Regions from separate parts of the Homo sapiens genome. Here region 2 is linked to region 1. Evidence: promoter capture Hi-C in 16 types of primary human blood cells and fetal thymus (Javierre and others, 2016). All regions are on one chromosome and are shown on one strand. The core of a region is centred on a gene start or on the middle of the fragment in contact, and the rest is flanking DNA. Distances in the headings are between cores, read along the strand shown. Region 1 holds the start of XIRP1 (xin actin binding repeat containing 1). Region 2 holds the start of WDR48 (WD repeat domain 48).

Region 1 (7,591 bases), core at 1,235-3,734:
CACATCACCCTTCAGCTCCTGGATCTCTGAGCGCAGTTCCAAGGGGCTCTGCTCCTGCAGGGAGGGGCGGGAGCCCAGGCGGTCCAGCGGCCGCGTCTCAAAGAGCATCCTGGTACCCTGCACATCTCCGCTGGCTGCAGGCTCCCTCACAGTGGCCTCCAGTTCCTTGGCTTGCCCTGTCAGCTCGTCCAGTGGCTTTGTCTCAAATAGCCAGCGGGCTGCACGAACGTCTCCTCCACCTGGCTGGGGCCTGGTTGGCTCCTGGTCTGTGCTGTTGGCAAAGGAGCCTTCCTCAAACTTGCGGGAGGTGGCCTGGACGTCACCACACAGCACGGGCTCCTTGGCAGCTGGCCTCTCGTGTTCTCCAATGGCATCCAGTCTCCAGTTCTCAAAGATCCAGCGCATGCACTGAACGTCACCCTCGGTGGGTTCCTCAGAGCCCAGGACCTCAGCCAGATCCTCGGCCACAGCCTCAGCCAGATTCTTGCGGAGCTCAGGGTGGATGTGCCTGTAGAGGCGGCGGAGCTCACTAGCTTGCCGCTGCTGATGGAACTTGGAGAAGGATTCCTTGGGTGGCGGCAGTGGCAGGTCCTCCAGGGCTGGGGGTGGAGGGAGGGGCAGGTCCTCTGCAGTTGCCATCCTCATGGTTGGTGTGGGGGCCACCTGTGTCTGGGTGTCGGCCATCCTTCTGAGAAGAAGGGGCAGAGATGAGGATGGGATTGGGAGCCTTAGATCTAGATGTTCAGCAGGGTAGAGGCTGGATGCTGGGAGAAATGGTAGTAAACAGGGCTCAGAGTCAGAGTAGCTCTGGGTGACTTACGCTTAGAGACTCCTTCCCTCTCTCTATGTGCCTGGCCTGGGCTTCACTTCGCTGCCTGCATGGTTCGTGGGCAACAGGTCTTGAACTTAGGACATGGACCCATTAATCATAGTGGGTTCCTGCTTTCCCTACATCTCATGCGTTGCTAGGGAGTGACCATGGTACCACTGGACATGAGACACTTTCCTTTAGCTCCATAAGGGACGCATAAACCTCCAGTGGGCAAACTGGACATGCCCCATCCTCACCTTCCTTTGTTAAAAATCAGTGTTTCCCTGGAAGACTGCCAGGGGAGTGGCCTGGGGGAATCCTGACTTTTGGAGTCCCAGCCTTGGAGAGGCAGGTCTCTAAACTGGTGACTGATTTCCTATGGAGACGAGATTCCTTTGCAGAACACCAGAGGGCAGACTTGCCATGTTGACCTGGAACGCTGCCTAACTTTTACCTCTTGGCTGTCAACGCACTCCAACCTTTCCCAGGCCCAAGGAGGCAAGCAGAGGCCAACAGCCCATGCTAGAGCGGAAGCAGTTGAGAATCAGGGCTGGGAAGCTGCTCATCAGATATCTCGTGCTTAGGCCAGATCCAAATTCTGAATATCTGGTCAGGGTTTTCTGCATTATACTCGAAGACTGAGAATGTCTGAGCTAGGGGGATCTCAAAGGTCTTTTAGCACAATCATTTATAAATAAAGATGAGGGAACTTAGGCCCAGAGTCAGATCTTGGTGAATAAATGGAAGGCCGTGCTGGCTTGGGGTCCCTAGACTCCATTTAGGGCATGGCCCCAAGAAATAAGAGGGTAGCAGGTGTAAAGCTTTCTTATTGGCCATAGAACCCGTCTATTCCCCAGCAGGCACCCCTGGGAGGATATGAGGGTGACAACAACCAGGGAGAGGACCATGGGATCAGGGTCCTTTCTGCAGAGACAGCCCTGCCTCTTGCTCCTGGATACCGCTCTCTAAGCAAGCAAGCACAGCTTCAGGGGCTCGGACTCAGGGGGGCTTCAGGCTAAGCCCTACCCCTGCAGGCCTCATGGCCACCCCAGCTCAGCCTCTCCCCGGCTACACCCCCGCCCCTCAATGACCTACCACCCCTCAAGCCCTTCTCTGGTCTCTGTCCATGTATGTCTTATCTCTCTTGTGACAGGTGTACTAACAGTCCCCAGAGGCCAGTAGGGAAAGAATGGGAAGCACGTGCCCCCTCCTGCTGCCCCTGACCCACTGCTCTGCACCACACAGGGTGCTAAATATAGCTGAGGTCCTGGCCTCAGAACAGCAGCCCTGGGCTCAGAGGGAGGCTGAGGCCCAGCCAGTGGGGACCCTCAGTACCCTTGGCTCACCTCATCTCCTTCATTAGCCTGGGCTCCCCTATCCTGCCTCCTGGGCTGGTGTCAGGCCCCTGGGCTGCAGGCCAGCCAGGTGCTAGAACCTGGACACCTTCCCTGGCCAAAGGAGTCTGCACTGGGGGGAGGTACTGGAAGTAAGTGGGGCAGGACTTCCTCCCTATGGCTACCTCAGAAGGAGGAGAGAGGAAACTGAGACCTGCTGACCCCATGCCCACCCTGGCATGTCCACCAAAGACATCAGAACCTTTGGGGAATGTGAGCTCTGAAACCTGCAGCCTGAGTCTCATCAAAGCTCTGGGTGGTTTTCTTTCATTTCTGAGCTCCAATGAGGATCCCCTGCCCAAGGCAAACCTGAGCCTGTCTCCACCTCTACTCCATCCTGTCACCACCAGGGTGGCCTGAGCAGATGGTGTGTGCACACCATCAGCTTCACCCCACCCCCGCCCCCAGGAATTTCCAGAATCTCTGCTAAGGCCACAGACAGTTATTATCATGGAGTCCAGGGATGTCAGGCCTAAGGACCCTCAGAGGTCACTCAATCTAAACCCCTTATTGTTCAAATAGGGAAACAGAGGCCCAAAGAGGGGAAAGGAGCTGTCCAAGGAGGCTCAGCAAGGCAGTAGCAAAGCCTGAAGCATGTCTCCTGACTCCTGGCCTTCCCACCACCATCTTTGCCTGGCTTGAGACTGCTGGGACAAGTGTAGAGTCAGGACAGAATTCATAACTGGGACCAGACTTACGTGGGGTGAGCCCCAAGAACTGTCCTAGAGCTTGGTCTCCTAGGGCTGGGCCAGCCTCTCAGGATGGTCCCCCTGCTGTCCTCGGGTCACCTCCTCCTTGGCCCAGCTGGCTCCATATGTCTTTACATCTGGGCAAATTCAGATCTGGTCTCCCTCCCGTGAGCCCCCCAAATCTGCCCTGGGGGCTTTCCCACTGGGCAAGACTATGGACATGGGCAGAGTCCGAATTCCACCCCAGGTTTTAGGCTATGATATGTAGGGAGCTGGGCTCCGGCCAGCCCCTGGGAGCTATCCCTGGGCCAGATATGCCAAGAGTGTCATCCACAACAACTAGGCATGGGGCTTGTTCTAGCAATGCACACTCAGGCCTACTTACAGCCCCCTGCCCCCACCTCTCTCCTGTTCCTCCTTCCTCCAGATCCTGGGCCTGCCTGAAGCTTCCCTGGGAGGAAGCCCTGAAGCCTGAGGCACTCCATACCTGTATTTTAAAAATCACAACTCCAGGCCTTTCTGGATCATGCCAGCCTGGCAGGAGCCTATCCTTTCTGCTAGCTTCAGGCCTGTGGCAGCCACTCTGAGAGCTCCCATGGGGCTCACACTGTCTTTACCTCCTTTGTGGGTTCTTTATGTCTGAGACTTCCACTCACCTCCTCCCATGCATGCCCCTCAATCTCCTTCCCCTACTCAGAGCCATTCCTAATACGTCCATTTCAGAAGGAGAGGGGATCCCAGCTGTGAAAGCCAGCCTTGCTGTGGAAGGATGGAGAGGTAGGTTACTCACCAAGGGTCTCTCTTGGCTGATGGGGTGTTTGTGGTCTGTAGCAGCTGTGGTCTCAGGGTTCGTCGTTCCTCTGGAGGTTCTTGTTCAAATTGGTTCTGTTCTGCTGGCTCCAACAGACACCTTCTTGCTGCCCTGGCTCCAGGTCTCTGTCCCCTGCCAGCCCCAGCAGCTGCCTTTATCTTGCTGGCTAGTGGGTGGGCCGTGGTGGGGGCGGGTGGGAGAGGCTATGTTCCGAGTATTAAGTGGTTCGGTTATTTTTAGGTCTTGTGGAAGTCACTCTTCCATCCTGGGGAATCAGTTACATGTCCTTTGGGCTGGGGAGGGGAAACAGAGGGGGAGAAGCTTCATTCATCCAAAGTCTGATCTGGGGATTGGGGTCAGTGACTCAGCTGGGTTGTGAGGTTGGGGGTGTCCCAGACTATTTTGAGAGAGTGACTAAGAAGAGGCATCTGACACCTTGGACAGCTTGCTCCCGTCTTGTGAGCCCCCATCATTCTACTCTGGCCCTGCCTCTGACTCTTCCTGACGTGTCTCCACCCACCGTGCCAGGAGACTGGAGGTCTCCTGAGGGCAGGCTGGGCACCTCCTCCTCTGTTCTGAGCCTGGATACCTCTGAGTGTGATGCTCAGCTCTCTTTCTTCCCCATTCCCTTCTGCACTAAAGAGTTCCTTCTTTCTTATCCATTCCACCCTGTGCCCCACAGCACAGGTCAACACAGCCCCGATGAAGCTGGATTTGGGGGGAAGACATCTGAATGACCAGGCCCAGCTCTTCACTGGGCCGAGATTGGCCAGGCCCAGCTCCTCCTTTGCACCACTACACCCAGTTAATTTTTGTATTTTTAGTAGAGATGGGGTTTCACCATGTTGGCCAGGCTGGTCTCGAACTCCTGACCTCAGGTAATCCACCTGCCTCGGCCTCCCAATGAATGAATTCCACAGCAGGACTCTATGGTTTTCATTCCAGATTATCTGAGTCCTTTCTTCTCGACTCTTCCCTCTGACTCAGGGCCCAGGCTTTCTGGGAATGGAGGGGAGGGGAAGGGCGGCATGCAGGGAGCTGACCGTGGGGTTATTTCTGACCCTGGAGTCATCAGCTTCCCAGTCACAGATGGAGTGGCGGCGGGGGTGGGGGGGTCACACCTGCCTCCTCCTTTGCTTACCAGGGCGTGAGGGGCCCAGGAGGCCCAAGAGATCCTGGCAGTCAGACCAGTGTGGTGAAGGATGTCAGGGGACCATCTGCAAAAAACTCGAAAGAGGTGTTTTGTCCTAGGTGGGCCTGGCCCAGGCTCCATGCCTGTGGGTATGCAGGTGCATTCTGTGGCCTGGCACATGAGGTCTTCCTTCTGACTCCCCAAATGCCCTCTGGTACCAGGGGGTGATGCCAGACATTGCTCACTTTTTCCATGTAGTCAATGTCAGTCCTGCAGCGTCAGCTGGGATGGGGGTAAGGACATCTGGGAACCCCCTCTTCCTGGTCTCCCTCCCTCTTGTCTCTTCCCCTGCTCTTTTCTAGCCCTCTGCCTGTCCCCCAGGCTCCTGGCTCTCTCTAGGAAGGGCAGGGAGACCGATGTACCAGTGTTTCAGGGAAAGGGCAGCCTTAGGTTTCTCAGGATTTCTCCTGGGAGGAGCTTTCTCCCTGTGGGTACTGAAATTTCTTACTTTCTAGGATAGTTTTGAGAATTGAAGGAATTATTATATGAAAAGAGTGCCTCCAGCCAGGCACGGTGGCTCACGCCTGTAATCTCAGCACATTTCGGCAGGCTGAGGCTGGTGGATCACTTGAGGTCAGGAGTTCGAGACCAGCCTGACCAACATGGTGAAACCTTGTCTCTACTAAAAATATAAAAAATTAGCTGGGTGTGGTGGCACACACCTGTAATCCCAACTACTTGGGAGGCTGAGGCAGGAAAATTGAATCTGGGAGGCAGAAGATGCAGTGAGCTGGGATCGCACCCCTGCACTCCAGCCTGGGCGATAGAGCAAGACTCTGTCTCAAAAAAAAAAAAAAGTGCCTGAGAGTACTTAGCACATAGCCTATGCTTTAGAAGAGCCAGCTATTATACTGTATATAATATAAAAAGAGAAAAGCCCCTAGGTGGAACTCACTTTTGTACTCACCTCCTGTGATAACTCATGGGAGAAATTCCTCAGGCCTCAATATTAGGAAAGAGGCTCTTCCTGAGCACTTGGTTTCTTTGTATCTAGTACAGCTGTGCTGTCCAATAGAGTTGCCACTAGCCAAATGAGGCTATTTAAATTTAAGTACATTAAAATGAAATAAAATAAAAACTCAGTTATTTCACTACACTAGCCATATTTGAAGTGCTCCATAGAGACAAGTGGCTAGCAACTATTATATTGATTTTGTTTGCTTGTTTGTTTTTGAGACGGAGTTTCGCTCTGTCGCCCAGGCTGGAGTGCAGTGGCGCGATCTCGGCTCACTGCAACCTCCACCTCCCGGGTTCAAGCGATTCTACTGCCTTAGCCACCCGAGTAGCTGGGATTACAGGTGTGTGCCACCGTGCCCAGCTAATTTTTGTATTTTTAGTAGAGATGGGGTTTCACCATGTTGCCCAGGCTGGTCTCAAACTCCTGACCTCAGGTGATCCACCTGCCTCCGCCTCCCAAAGTGCTGGGATTACAGGCATGAGCCACCGCACCCAGCCTGAAACTATTATATTGAATAGTGCAGAATGTTTGCATTATTTCAGAAAGTTCTACGGATAGTGCTGTTATAGATGTTAAAATAAATAAGAAAATAAATTTTTCTGGAAGGAGAATTGTCAATAGAATAAACAATTTTTATGACATATGGTGTTTCTCTTTGACTTGGCTGCTAGGAAACTCAGAGCTAAATTTTTAACCTAGCAAGTAGACTTTATGGTCCAAATCCTGTGTAATGAGGGTGACCAACTTTTTGTTGTCTGTCTCTGAGGAGTTTTGCAAGACAAGGGATGTTCAGTTTTAAAACTGGAAAAGTTCTAACAAAACCAGGACAAGCTAGTCACTCTATGTGTAATGATCTAATGATATCACATCATCATGGTATTAATTATGAGGCTGTCAAGATAGTAAACTAGGCATTATTTACTGGAGTATCTTTAGTGGTATTAAGAAGGTAAACTGAGGCACAATAAATTTTTTAAGAGTTTATTTGTGCAAACAACAATTTTTGAATCAGGCAGTCCCAAACCAGAAGTGGCTTGGGAACTCTACTGAGGGAGCACAAGCGGGAGGTTTTTATAAGACAGATACAGAAGTAAAGCAAATATAATATTTGATTGGTTACAGTTATACAGTTGCCTTATTTGATCTATCCCATTGGAAAGTCCCTGGTTATATAATTATTTGTGCTGGCTGCTTCTCATTAGTTGCACTTAAGTTTTATTTTTCTTTAATATAGGCATTTACAAGAAATAGCTCAAAGGCAGGCATGGTGACTCACACCTGTAATCTGAGCACTTTGGGAGGCTGAGGTGGGAGGATCACTTGAGCCCAGGAGTTGGAGACCAGCTTGGGCAACATAGCGAGACCTCATCTCTACAAAAAATAAAAGAAAATATTAGCTGAGTGTGGTGGCATGCAATTGTTGTCCCAGCTACTTGGGAGGCTGAAGTGGGAGAATCGCTTAAGCCAGAAAGGTGGAGGCTGCAGTGAGCCGTGATTATGCCACTGCATTCCAGGCTAGGTGGCAAAGTGAGATCCTGTCTCAAAAAAAAGAAAAGAAAAGAAAAAAGAAAGAAGGAAGGAAAGAAGGAAGGAAGGAAGGAAAAGGAAGAAAGGAAGGAAGGAAAAAGAAAGAAAAAGGAAGGAAGGAAGGAAGGAAAGAAGAAAGGAAGAGCTCCAGTTTTGCATGTCTGCAAATCAAGCAAGGGTAAGGTCCCTTACGAGACCTAACTTGTTTT
Region 2 (7,529 bases), core at 3,108-5,607, 140 kb before region 1:
AAAAACTCAAACAACTCAATAGCAAAAAAAACCCAAATAATTTTTAAATGGGCAAATGATCTGAATACACATTTTTCAAAAGAAGACATATAAATAGCCAACAAATACATGAAAAAAATGCTCAACATCACTAATCATCAGGGAAATACAAATCAAAACCACAGTGAGATATTATCTCACTCCAGTTAGAATCGCTATACGAAAAAGACAAAAACAAATGCAGAGGGTGAGGATGCAGAGAAAAGGGAATTCATACACTGTTGATAGGAATGTAAATTAGTTCAACCATTATGGAAAACAGTGTGTAGATTTCTCAAAGAACTAAAACTACAACTACCATATGATCCAGCAATCCCACTACTACCCAAAGAACAGGAAATCAGTATGTCAAAGAGATACCTGTCCTCCCACAGTTACTGCAGCACTATTCACAGTGGCCAAGATACGGAGTTAACCTAAGTGTCCATCAAAAGAAGAATGGATAAAGAAAATGTGGTACATATATGCAATGAAATACTATTCAATCATAAAAAAGAATAAAATTATGTCATTTGCAGCAACATGGATAGCACCGGAGGTCATTATCTTAAGTGAAATAAGCCAGGCACAGAAAGATAAATACTGCATGTTCTCACCAATATGTGAAAGAGAAATAAGTTGATCTCAGAGAAGTAGAGAACAGAATAGTGGTAACTAGTGGCTGAGAAGGGTAAAGGAGAGGATTATATATAGAGAGGTTGGTTAACACATATAAAATTACAGCTAGGTAGAAGGAATAATTTTTGGTGTTCTATATCACTGTAGGATGACTATGATTAACAATAATTTATTCCATATTTTCAAATAGCTAAAAGAGTGGATATTGAATTTTCCCAAAGCAATTATTACAGATTGTATACAGGTATCAAAATATCACACTGTACCCCATATATATGTACAATTATTATGTGTCAATTAAAAAATACATCCACAAATTTATTGATACTTCATAAAAAAAGGAGTCATCTAATCCCCTCTCCTTAGACACTGATGGCCTTAGTAACTAAGTTCTAATGAATTGACTATGGCTTAAAGTGACACTGCATGACTTCCACTGTGAGTTTAGAAAAAGCATTATAGCTTTCAACCAGATTTTTCTTCTTCGGGATGCTCATCCTTGGAACCCAGTTAGCATATTGTGAGGAACCAAATAGTGCTGTGGAAAGATCATGAGAAGGTGTTCTAGCCACAGCTTTGGCTAAGGACTAGGCCAACACCAGTATCAGTCACCAGACATGTGAGAGAAGGGGTCTTCAGATGATTCCAGCCCCAATCTTTTAGCTGCCCCAGCTGATGTGAAGTGGATAGTGGAACAGAGACAATCTGTTCCCATGAAGCTCTGCATAAATTACAGATTTGTAAGTAAAGTAAGGGTTGTAATTGTTTTAAACCATTGCATTTTGCAGATGGTTAAACAGCAATAGATAAAAGGAACAGGAAAAAAGAGTGCTGAATATTGGACAGTAGTTCAGAGCATATACTGCATCCTACAGGACAGTATCAAAAAGGGTTATCTCCCAGAAGGCACCATAGCTAAGTCTTCAATATATCTTCAATAAGACAAGATACTTCTCAGTGATTGAGTACACAATTAGACCAATAAATTCCATGGGCAATAGCCCATTGCATTACTTCTTTCATTGCAGAGTGAATTTCTTGGTCAAAAGCAATATAGTGTTAGAGAAAATGATAGTGTCTAAAGCACTGAGTAATTCCCTAGATGGTGGTGTCAGCGGAAGTACAGTGAGCAGGGAAAGCAAATCTCAATCTAGAATAAACATATTTTAGAGAGGACAAATAAGAACTCCCTCAATGATGGGGAGGGCCAATGACCAATGGAATAGACTTGCCTACATGTGACTGGCTGACCCTCCCAGAGCATGGGGTATTGGTCACTGCTTCTGAACACCCAGCGGTGGCTTGGTGATCCCATGCATAGCTCCAATCCTGTTGCCATTGCCATTGCCATTTATTTCATGATTCTACTGAGCAGGCAGTGAGGCTGAGTTTCATCACAAAGCAGTTCATTTCATCCATATGATTCTTAAGATTTATTCTGAGAGGTCCATCACTATATCCCTTCTGGAGTCTTCCTTGTCACTAGTTCTCCAGTCTTGCTCTTTCCATGTCCTTCACAAACTGGCCAAAAAATTATCCTCTGACCCTGAATTGACCATTTCTCCTTTCAGCCAAACTGAACATCAAAACATACTGGTGAAAATTCTGCCCACTGAAAGAACTTCACTATTTCAATATTTTTCAGGTCCAAAGCAGGACTACAACATATCAATTTCTAGCAAGTACCAGTATATTGTCCAGAGCAACATACCTGTATTGTATTTTGCACATCATAGGTGCTCAATAGACACTTAAGCAATTTTTAAAATACAGACATATTATTTCCCTACCTGTATTTCAACAGCTTCCCATTGGTCTAAAAGATCCTGCTGGGTATGGCCTCTGCATACTCCTTTCACTTCTCTGTACTCTAAGCCTTGACTCTCAGTTCCTGTAATGTTCCATGCTCTCTCCTGCTACAAGACCTTTGCTCAGACTGTTCCCTCTCCTTGCCTAGTTAACTCTTGACTCAAGATACTTCCTGTCTTACAATCATCTTTCTTCATAGTACTTATCTCTGTATTAATTCCTGTCTCATCCTGGGACTCTAAGTTCTATGACTATGTGCACTCACCACTGATTCCCCAACACCTAATATAGTGCCTGGCATATATGATATGCTAAATAATATTTTGTTAAATGAATGAATACATGAATCAGTGAATGAATAAGCCTGTAATGATGCAGTAATTTACCTATAAGTTATCACTGCCAGTTTTGCTTAAGAAGCTTTCTGCCATCACAATTTTTACTCATCTAATTCACATTTCTTTATTAATTTAAGAAGTATTTGTCAAGACAACTTTTCTAAGCATTACTTATATACTAGCACTATGCAACAGAAATTTGTGACCACATATGTAATTTTAAATATTCTAATATCCATGACAAAATTAATAAATTTTATTTAGCCTAATATACCCCCAAACATCATTTCAACATGAAATCAATACAAAAAATTATTAATGAGATATTTTACATTCTTTTCTTCAAACTAGTCTTTGAAATTTGGGGGTAGTTTACAATTACATATCTCAACTGGAACTAGCTATATTTCAAGTGCTCAAGAGCCACAAATGACTAGCAGATACATCATATGCTATATCCCACAGTGTAGTTCTATAGGATTCACTTTCACTAGAGAGGGTCTGATCACCCTCAGCTCTTATAATTAGTGGTCAGGAAAACCACCTTAAGTCAAACCTAACTGTTCCAGTATAAGAGATGATTTAAACTAGAATTGTCTCTGGGAACAATTTTAGCTGGTGTACCGTTTTCGCCTTCCTATAACATCTTTTTGTCTTGTTTTTTTTTTTTAAACTTTTAAGTTCAGGGGTACAAGTGCAGGTTTGTTATATAGGTAAACTTGTGTCACGGGTGTTTGTTGTACAGGCTATTTTGTCACCCAGGTATTAAGCCTAGTACCCATTAGTTATTTTTCCTGATCCTCGCCCTCCTCCCACCCTCCACCCTCCGAAAGGCCCCAGTGTGTGTTGTCCCCCTCTTTTGTGTCCATGTGTTCTCATCATTTAGCTCCCACTTATAAGTGAGAACGTGCGGTATTTGGTTTTCTGTTCCTTTGTTAGTTTGCTTAAGGATAAGGGCCTCCAGCTCCATCATGTCCCTACAAAGGACATGATCTCGTTCTTTTATGGCCCCACTTTTTATCCTTTTAATTTAAACGGATTCTTTGCTCCCCCTGAAGATGGAGGCCACCTCCTTTGCAAGGACTTCTATCTCTCCCCCTTTGAGGCCACGACATAATTCTCCGCATTTTTAGGTACTTAACAGTAAATCACTTGGTTCACTTGGTTCTCCTGCCTGCCTAGGAAAGGTCAGGAGATGGTCCAGCGCCATGTCTAGCACTGTTAATTCTTTCAGTGCTTTCGTTTTGCTTGGGCCTCTCGGGGAGGGCGCGGAAAAGAGCGCAAGCCAGGGTCTAGGACCACACAAGTGAATTCGTGTTGCTCCCTCAGCCCTGAAAAGTGGCTCTCTCCCCATCAGCATTATACTTGCACAGTGGTTTTGTTTTTAGGTGCATCTACCTCATCACATGGCTACCGGCCACACAGCAACTAACAGCACCGAGGAAACACAACAGCCTGTTTACCTTCAGCCCCGCCACTAACCCTTGGCCAAAGGGAAAGGGGCAGGACATCCTCCCGCTCTGAGCCACCTCCGGAAGTGACGTCGGAGTGTCAACATGCAAGATGGCGGCCCATCACCGGCAGAACACAGCAGGGCGGAGGAAAGTGCAGGTATGGAAGCCCGGTTCCTCGGTCTTCCGGACGCGGCCGGCAGCTCCGGGCCCACTCCAGCTAGAAGGTGCCCGGCGCCACGACCAGCTGGGGTAGCGGCATGGGGCGAACGGGGCGGGGCGCGGCCGGCCACGAGGGGTGGGGCCGCGGCGCTAACGGCTTGAGGAAGGGGCGGGGGTCGGCTTGCTTGGCCCTTGGGGCCCAGGCCCGGGACCCTCGTGGGCGGCATTCTGAGCCCGGGATTGCTTGTCGCCGCTCTTCTGTAGGAGTGGACTTGCGGGGTCGGGATAGGCTCGTTCCCCGCCCACTTGCCTCCCCCTTGCCCTGTCTTTCTTCGAAGCGCTCTGCCCTCGCTGCGTCGGAGCCGAGGCCTCCAGGGGTTTCCCAGGGGGGTGGGCGTTGGAGGAGTGAGCGGCTTGTGCGGGGGCGTGGCGAGGCGGCGGAGCGCCAACGGCCCTGCGGGGTTTCTGCTGAGGATTCCGCACTTGGGAGCCCCCAGCCCTCTCTTATGTGGGAGCTGTCCCCTGGGTAGGTTTAAGTGACATAAGAATGTGCGTGGGGAAATTATAATTTTAATTGTTTTGGTATTTAAGTTCCTCTTCACCATTTCTTCATCTTAAGTGTGCATCGCTGAATCTGTCTTTATTGTTTGTGTAATTTATTGTCCATGTGGTAAAGAGTTGTCTAATCTTACCGTGTGTGTCTTGTGCCTTATGCCTTTGTGAATTCACTTTTGTTTGCGGTTACGCTTAAGAGTTACTGCCACTTCGGGGAACATCACACACCGGGGCCTGTCGGGGGCTGGGGGCGCTAGGGGAGGGATAGCATTAGGAGAAATACCTAATGTAAATGACGAGTTGATGGGTACAGCAAACCAGCATGGCACACGTATACCTATGTAACAAACCTGCACGTTGTGCACATATATCCTAGAACTTAAAGTATAATAATAATATTAAAAAATAGTTATTGCCACTTAATATTTTCAGTGATGCAGGGAATAAAAGCCCTCTTACAGGTGTTTGCCTGCAGGTATATTGTATGTGGTAGTGGCAGTTTGGTGCATTTATTCATTAAACATTTACCTAGCACTTAGGGTGGCCCCCAAAGGGGAAAAGGGATTGAAAGGGTGTAGAAATAATTAACACCTAGGCTTTCTTTATAAAACACAGCATTATATGGAGTTCTGCGGGTTGAAATCAAGTGTCAGATAAAGGTAGTTAGATGAAGGGGTCCTTCAGTAAGGTAATCCCAGCAGAAGGTGGTAGGCCATAAAGTCTTCTGATTAGTTCACATCTTGGTTTTATTGATCTCACTGATCAGTACAGTGTCTTAAGCACTCACTGGATGTTTGTTGAAATGAGTGAAATTAATAAGTCTAAACTCACCCTATTAGGTGTTTTTCAGTGCATTAGTGATAGGATTTAAGTATCACCAGCATCCAAGGCAGGTAGTGAGAATGTCTCCTTGGGACTGAAATATAACTCAAAAAGTAACCCGATTGTATTATAGACTCTATGGTGGTGTACATCTTAGGAGAGTAAGGGTAGTTAATCAGGCCTTTCAGTTTATTGCATTAAGACTTAAAACTCCTATTACTGCAGTGTGTTCCCTGCTTGCTTCCTTCCCAGGCCTGCCCACTCCCAAAATGCATGCAATAAAGTATATATATTTTAAAAAGACTTACAAGGCAATTGTACTAGTATGGGATGGAGAAAATGTAAATTAACTGCAGCAGGTTTGGAAAAACAGTGTTCCAATAGGCTGAATGTGAGCCAGTGCACGTAGAATGAGGCAGGTGATAGATAATTCCACTTTTCACTGGTCAAAGTACAAAATTAGAGTTTGGTGTTCAGCACTTAGGACCTTGTTCTTCATAGGTAGCAATCAGATTGGTGAACTGACTTGAAATTATTTCCTATGAAGAACTTTTGAAAGAGCTGTCTTAGATTAACCTGCTGAAGAGAAGATTCAGGGAACTTTCGGAATTTGTCCCTAAGGTATAGAAGCAGCCTGAGAAGCCACAGGGATTGATTTCATCTGAACCATCATTGTCTATGAGGTGTTTTTTAAACTAATGCGTGTTCATTGTAAAAATCCCAACAAACAAAAACATAAATTAGAGTTGCCCTCCATGCTTCCAAGAAAGCTACTGCGGGCAATGTCATGTTTTAATCCTAGACCAGAGTTTATCAACCTGAACATTCTTGAAATTTCATCTGGATAATTCTTCGCTGTGTCTGAGGGAGGGAGCTGTCCTATGCATCACAGGTTCTTTGGCATCATCCCTGGCTTCTACCAACTAGATGTAGTAGCATCTCCCCAGTTGTGACAACTAAAAATGTCTCCAGACATTTTCAAATGTCCCCTCAAGGGCAAAATTGCCGCTGGTTGAGAACCGCTGTTCTATACCTCTTGCTGTTTGTGTACCTGACTTAACATATTTTTTTGCTATAAATGGAGCCATAGTATTCACTGTTTTGTGTCTTGCTTTGTCAAATTTTTAAATAAACATTCCCTTTAGCCCAGAATTCCTTATCTAAAAATATATTCTACAAAATTGCATATGCATGTATCTGTCCCTACTTATGCAAGGGTGTTGTGTGAAGCCATTCTTGAATTGCTATAAAGAAATACCTGAGACTGGCTCATTTATAAAGAAAAGAGGCATAATTGGCTCATAGTTCTGCAGGCTTTACAGGAAATATGGTGCTAGGATCTGCTCGTCTTCCAGGGAGGCCTCAAAGAGAGAGAGAGTCAAAAAAGCAAGTCAACATGGCATATTCCCATTTCCACAAAGGAAATATGCATTTTAAAAGTCAGGAAGGGTAATAGCAGTGATTATCCCTTTGGGAATAGATTGTGTGATTATAGATAAGACAGGACATGGGATATCTTTTAGTTTGAAATATGCACAACTTTGTATTTTTGAACTTTTTACCACATTATTTGCTCTTATACATCAAAAAGAAAACTTCTCATCTTGGAAAAAGCATACATGGGTACTTGGAGTAAATATACTTTGTCTCCTGACTGTCTCAGACCACGAGACAGTAGCCCTGAGCTCCTTGTCAAGTTGTAGGCCAAGACAAACCCTTGAGACTTAAAAATATT

The links. Contacts are between HindIII fragments. The CHiCAGO score rates a contact against its expected background, and 5 or more counts as called.
Region 2: the fragment with the promoter of WDR48 here is called in contact with a fragment that was not itself captured in region 1 in 1 of 17 cell types (neutrophils); the score reaches 5.4 in neutrophils.

What each region holds. Positions count from the first base shown.
Region 1 is chr3:39,188,762-39,196,352 of GRCh38, forward strand. It overlaps XIRP1 (xin actin binding repeat containing 1), which reads right to left and starts at 3,834. Exons shown (of 2, transcript NM_194293.4): 1 at 3,685-3,834; 2 at 1-764. The coding sequence starts at 684. RefSeq lists an enhancer at 2,605-3,594. The HindIII fragment of the contact is 1,708 bases long and covers 1,631-3,338 here.
Region 2 is chr3:39,047,659-39,055,187 of GRCh38, forward strand. WDR48 (WD repeat domain 48) reads left to right here and starts at 4,358. Exons shown (of 19, transcript NM_020839.4): 1 at 4,358-4,415. The coding sequence starts at 4,368. SCN11A (sodium voltage-gated channel alpha subunit 11) reads right to left here and starts at 4,286. Exons shown (of 30, transcript NM_001349253.2): 1 at 4,203-4,286. RefSeq lists enhancers at 3,519-4,391, 4,062-4,151, 4,162-4,211, 4,232-4,421 and a silencer at 4,462-4,561. The HindIII fragment of the contact is 5,994 bases long and covers 2,885-7,529 here.